2 separate regions of the Homo sapiens genome follow, and region 1 is linked to region 2. The links are contacts of gene promoters, found by promoter capture Hi-C in human tissues and cell types (Jung and others, 2019). All regions are on one chromosome and are shown on one strand. Each heading gives the region's core, a stretch centred on a gene start or on the middle of the fragment in contact. The rest is flanking DNA. Distances are from core to core; before and after follow the strand shown. Region 1 overlaps HUNK (hormonally up-regulated Neu-associated kinase). Region 2 holds the start of KRTAP11-1 (keratin associated protein 11-1).

Region 1 (3,093 bases), core at 206-2,705, 1.1 Mb before region 2:
ATTGCATTACTATCCAAAAAGGACTTTGAGAAGTCCTTAGAGCTCTTTGAAGTTTGTTTTAGGGTCCTGAAAACCCCTGCCTTATGGGCAAAAGAGATTAAAATATTCCTCACCATCCTGGAAAGCCATGCCAGGCATGGCCACAGGCCACACGCCACCCTCCACCCCTCTGAGATAACACTTAGGTTCTCCACTGAAGCCTGGAAAAATAGTACCACCCTGCTCAACGTAACACACAGAACACCTTCCTCCATCGCAAACCCCACTTTCTTTCATGAACCATCAGCTTTCCAAAGTCTGGACTGGCTTGTGTGAGCACCTGAACACTGTACCAAGTGAAAGGGCTGCAGGTCTGTCATCAGACTTTTCACATTAGTGTAGCCTGATAGATGCAAATAGAGACCCCTCCCCACTTGAAGCTCCCTCCTCATCACTTCCCAAGCTAAAAAATTATTTGATAATCTGATCATTGTGCCTTCTTGGACATCGTAATTAGCACTGACTCAACCCTCATAAAAGCTAACGCTTCTCCTCCAGTTTGACTTTGGAGAATTCACAGCACAAAACCATCATAACCTGAAGTGACTGCTTGGAATGTATTATAAATGCTAGTGTTGAGGTGTAGTGATGAAAAGGTAACAGTCTGAAAAACTGCTCAGCCATAAAAGGCATTCGCTACTCTGTGACATACAAGTGCCAACAAGCAAAAAGAAAGTGTGTAGAAGAGAGACTTAGAAAGGCCCTCGAAGCTTAAGTTTGCAAACGGCATGACAGAGATGAATGAAGGGCAGTTCTTTGGAAGCATGTTCTGTGGATTCACAAGGGCAATAATGCTGTTTTCAACTCAAGTTTGGTAAAAATTCTTCCAACTTAATCTTTAAAAAGAGCCGAAGAATTAATAGATATGATCATTACATATATGAGTGACAGGGCCAGGTGCAGTACCCCAGCAGTTTGAGAGTCCGACGCAGGAGGATTGCTTGAGCCCAGGAGTTCAAGACCAGCTTGAGCAACATAGGGAGACCCTCTCTCTATAAAAAATATACCCCCCACCAAAAAAAATTAGCTGGGCATGGTGGCATGCGCCTGCAGTCCCAGCTACTTGGGAGGCTGAGGCGGGAAGACTGCTTGGTTTCGGAGGCCGAGGCTGCAGTGAGCCATGATTGTGCCACTGCACTCCAGCCAGGATGACACAGTGAAACCTTGTCTTAAACAAAAACAAAAACAAATATGAATGACAGAGTCATCCAATTAATAAAGATGTGCATTAGTGAGACACAATAAAACTGGCATATTTTCTATTTGGATTGACATTACTCAAAACATAAGGTCATAGAGACAATAGATAATACCTCCAACTTTTTGTAGGGGGGGTGCGTCTTATACTAAATAAAATCAGAGAAGAGTGAAATAACACAGCATGGTAGGAAAATCTAGGTTTTCAGTCAAGCAGACTTAATCTCTCTGAGACTCAATTTCCTCACTGGTAAACAGGGACTTACCTTGCAGGATTGTATAAAAACAACACCACATGAAAAACACCTACAAAGGATTATTCAATAAGTGGCAGCTACTCATGTTACTGGTAAACTAGTATTTTTGGATATAAGCAGGGCCAGGCTGGTTGGAAGGGAGAGGAGATAAACTTAGCGGGGTGCAAAGGATTGAAAAAATGGGAGGCTGTCAGAAGGGCAGCAGCTGATCCTCAAACCTGAAGACATTCACTCTATGAACCAGATAAGATGCCCTGGGCTGCCTCAGCAGCTGGTGCACTGCTCTGGGCCCTACTGGGTCAGGACAATTCCCAATCCTGAGTAATCAAAATAATCTATGGGCCACCTTTCCAGGTCACACAGACACATTAACACCAGAGTCAGCAACCTAGATTCCCTGAGTGTCTATCATGTGCAAACACCTCACTTGACACCTGGCTCAAAGGATTTCAATCCTAGTTGAAAAAAGATATTTCTATATCCCAATAGTTATTTTAAAAAGGAGGAGATGGGGAGAGCATCAGATTCCCTAATTAGAAAATCAGATATAGAAATGCAATTCATGCTTGACAAGTGAAGACAACAAAGTCCTGTAGGAATGTGAAGATCTTTAACAAGCACACACAGAGCTTAAGGCCAAGGCAAAGCTGTCTGCTCAATGCAGGAGCTATGCGAGGTTGGACAGCAATTCCAGTGATGCTGAAATTGCTGGGAACATTTTTAATATGTCTCCTTTGGGACTAACTTTGGACCATTTTTTAACATCTTCAGAACTGCAACTCCTGCTTCTTTAAGGTTAAATTTAATTTTCACAAAAAACACTTAGAGCCCAGCCTGCTAAGACTGCGTGATGTTATTGAAAGTAAAAACAAGGTATGGTTCTGAAGCAATGAGATTGATTTTCTTGTGTTACTAACCTACCTGCGCTTGTCTGCTCCTTTTCCCACAGCTGTGTGGGGCTCATGCTAATGCTAATCAACAAATATTTCTGGCTTTTCACTTTCAACGCACATGGTAAGGTTGCACTGCCCCATTCTCTTTAGTTGGGTGAAGCCGCATGCCATGTTTTAGAAAGCTTCCACTTACAACTGGAAGATTGGTGGAAGATTTAATTGCTGGCGAAAGAACTTCTCTTTCTCTTTCCCTTTCTCCCTCTGCATGAACCAGAAATGTTGGAAGTGGTGGCTGCTCCATCAGCCTTGGGCCCTTGGCTGGGCAGAACCTTTCAATGTTTGATCCAGCTCTCAACTGAGATGTAGCATGACTGAGAAATAAACCTTTGTGGTCCTGAGCCACTAAGACTTGGGGGCTGATTGTTACTGCAGCATAACCTGGTCTATTCTGACTAATACAATGAAATGGCAGCAGATCAGCAGTTCTCCAGCTCCTCAGGCTGTCATCGGGTTCAAAGAGAGCACTGTCTGCCTTTCCCCACTGTGGGGGTACATTCATCCTCCTTTTGTCCTTTGTTATGGGTCACTTGAATAAAACAGGCTCTGAACCCTCAAAGAAACTTTGGAATCACTCTGAGAGATGGCAATATTTATGACTATATAACCCCTACAGAGACTGCTTTGAAAGACTGCATCTATTTGGAAAC
Region 2 (3,019 bases), core at 457-2,956:
CTTCCATAGTAGCCTGTGAACCTGTGGCTGGGAGAAGCCTGTAAACTAGTAATCCATTTTACAACATGCAAGCCAGGCCCTAGGGCCAAGGACTCAGGCCTTCAAACACCAACTAAGATACCCTCTGTGGTGGGAAGAGCATAGCCACAACATTGTGGAAAGTAGTCATCTCATTAATTTCACCCCGTTCCTGGGAACACATGGTGAGTCACTGAGGGAGGGTCAGGACATTGAGGTCTGATATCTGGGAATCATGCTATTGCTCACAGCACCCTCTTCTTTGGGTGTGTCGTTAGTTTCCAATTAGGGATTTCTGATGAGTCCTGACATAACGCTGTTTGCTTTGTGGATATTTAAAACATAGCTTACCTGTAGCCCTCAAATACATGGAAATCCATTTTATTCCCTTACGCTCCCTCATGTAAGCTAGTTTAAAAATGAGTCAGATGCTACAGCTGTTTTGGGACAGAAATACCACTGACCACTTGAAGCGATGTTGAAGTTGCTTATTTTGCCAGAGTTGAGGCAGTTTATTCATCTATGTTCAGGTGGACCCAAACGAGCCATCATTCTGGTGTTTAAAATTCATTATATTGTAGTGAGATGAAATAAAATAGAGTGATATCCCTATAGCTTCCCCAAGCATAAAAAGAATAATTAAATATAGCACACTCTTCACACATCTCTTCATTACCAAACATTGATTAAGTGCCTGCTTCCCCCAGCTCTGCCTCCCCCTTATCCCTGATGGAGACAATGACCTTGAAGAGCCTTTAGTTTGTCCATAATTAAAATGCATTCTATCTATATGTGTGAAAATAAATATCTTTTGAACATATTGAACAAATTGGGAGAAAGACACTGTACCCTTTCAAATTAACATTATGATAATTTTAAAAATTAACTAAGCCTTTTCCACTGGCATATTAATGAGACCCAGGAGTCACTATTATCCACTGTTATTAAATTAAACATTTTAGGAATAAAGCTCATCCAATTTACTTAGAAAAGGTCTTGGCTACAAATACAGTTGCACTTAGTTAGCTTCTAATTTGCTTTGTTGGTTGAACATAAAGGGTGGGTCCCACTGCCCTCTAGCCTTCCCACGGGCATCTTGTTTGAGTCAGTTGATTAATTTTGAGAGCCAGCTCAGACTTTGGATACAAGTCTCTGTGCCCTTTGTTCCTGTCAAGTGTTGTCACTGTTGTCTTGAAACATATTCAAGGAGGCACCTTCCCAATGAGGAGCTCCGTTAGGTGTGGTAGAGTGACTGATTAAGTTATGTTTAAAAGATATTAAGTCCAGTGACAAATGAAACAGGGCATGGGCTTGTAATTGGTCCTGGTAGGGAGGGAGAGAGTGTGTGATGGTAGGATGGTGGCATCTTTGGTAGGATGAGTGTCAGGTCAACACTCATCATAAGCAAGATGAATGAGGGACAACGTGTGGGCTGGGATGACCAATAGCTTTGAAGCTGCCAACCAGCCTTCTTAATCAGACTAAGTACAGTACAGAAGACTTGTGATTTAGTTACCAAACTACTAAACTTTCTTTATGAGGGTGAAGGCTTCTTAAGAGACAATTAATGTGTAGATTCACAAGATGTTCTAAGGCAAACTGGTCTGAGCCAAAGAAGCCACGGAGACCAGGGAGAGAGCCCCACCCACCAGCAAGGATATATAAAAGCTCAGGAGTCTGGAGTGACATTCACAACTCAGGAGGTAACTTCAGCAAGCTACCTGCAGCCCTCTGTCTGACATCATGTCCTTCAACTGCTCCACAAGAAATTGCTCTTCCAGGCCCATTGGAGGACGCTGCATTGTTCCAGTGGCCCAAGTTACCACGACTTCCACCACTGATGCTGACTGCCTGGGCGGCATCTGTTTGCCCAGTTCCTTCCAGACTGGCTCTTGGCTCCTGGACCACTGTCAAGAGACCTGCTGTGAGCCCACTGCTTGCCAGCCAACCTGTTACCGGCGAACTTCATGTGTCTCCAACCCTTGCCAGGTGACTTGCTCTCGACAAACTACCTGTATTTCCAACCCCTGCTCAACTACCTACAGCCGGCCGCTCACCTTTGTCTCTAGTGGATGTCAGCCCCTGGGAGGCATCTCCAGTGTCTGCCAACCAGTGGGCGGCATCTCTACTGTCTGCCAACCAGTGGGAGGAGTCTCTACTGTCTGCCAGCCAGCCTGTGGGGTCTCCAGGACGTATCAGCAGTCCTGCGTGTCCAGCTGCCGAAGAACCTGCTAAGTGTGTAGGAGCCAGTGAGCGAATCAAGACTCCACGACCTGCCAGCTGTTTCCAGGATCTTCCAGCATGCTGCTTGTCCCTGAATAGCTCTTCATAGCTGACCCTTCTTGTGACCGCCTGACTGCTGGCTACTATCCATGCACACGCTGTCTTTAGCACTCTAAAATTTTTCTGGCCAGCCCTAAGCTTGTTTTAAGGGTTGCTCACTGGTGCTGTGTATGCCTCTGGATGTGTCCAGAAGCTTTACCATCCACACCCCAGTCTCTGATGCTTTTGACATGTTTTCACCTTGCTGCTGTATCTCCTGGCCTCTGCTTTTGTGTCTCACAAAAACAGAGCTTGTCTCACCATGTATTTCTCAATAAACCTGCATTAGTTGGCATTGCAAATGTATGTCTCAGCAGAATTCTTTTTTAAACATTTCAACTTTTAATTTAGTTTTTGCGGGGTACATGTGCAGGTTTGCTACAGGGGTATACTGTGTGATGCTGAGGTTTGGGGTATGATTGAACCCATCTGTCAGGTATTGAACATAGTACCCAATAGGTAGTTTTCCAACCCTTTTCCTCTTCCTCACTCCCCGCTCTTCCAGTTGCCAGTGTCTATTGTTTTTATCTTTATGTCCACGTGTACCTAATGTTTAGCTCCTACTTATTAGTGAGAACAGGTGGTATTTAGTTTTCTCAACAGAGCTCCTTGTTTGCAAGAGTCTTTGCTGATCAGGGTCTGATTTTTTTTTTCCTGAGCCTAGAATATGGGCTTAATC

What was found. The method cuts DNA at HindIII sites, captures the fragments that hold promoters and counts their contacts. A contact is called where the count stands out against the background at its distance.
Region 1: a fragment that was not itself captured here is called in contact with the fragment with the promoter of KRTAP11-1 in region 2 in 1 of the 25 tissues and cell types used here (dorsolateral prefrontal cortex).

The regions. Positions count from the first base shown.
Region 1 is chr21:31,961,633-31,964,725 of GRCh38, reverse strand. The region is part of intron 5 of HUNK (hormonally up-regulated Neu-associated kinase); the gene reads right to left. Among named protein-coding and RNA genes, the nearest start is that of HUNK, 90 kb to the right of the region's middle. The HindIII fragment of the contact is 4,129 bases long and covers 1-3,093 here.
Region 2 is chr21:30,880,267-30,883,285 of GRCh38, reverse strand. It overlaps KRTAP11-1 (keratin associated protein 11-1), which reads left to right and starts at 1,706. Exons shown (of 1, transcript NM_175858.3): 1 at 1,706-2,642. The coding sequence starts at 1,762. The coding sequence ends at 2,253. The HindIII fragment of the contact is 5,009 bases long and covers 1-3,019 here.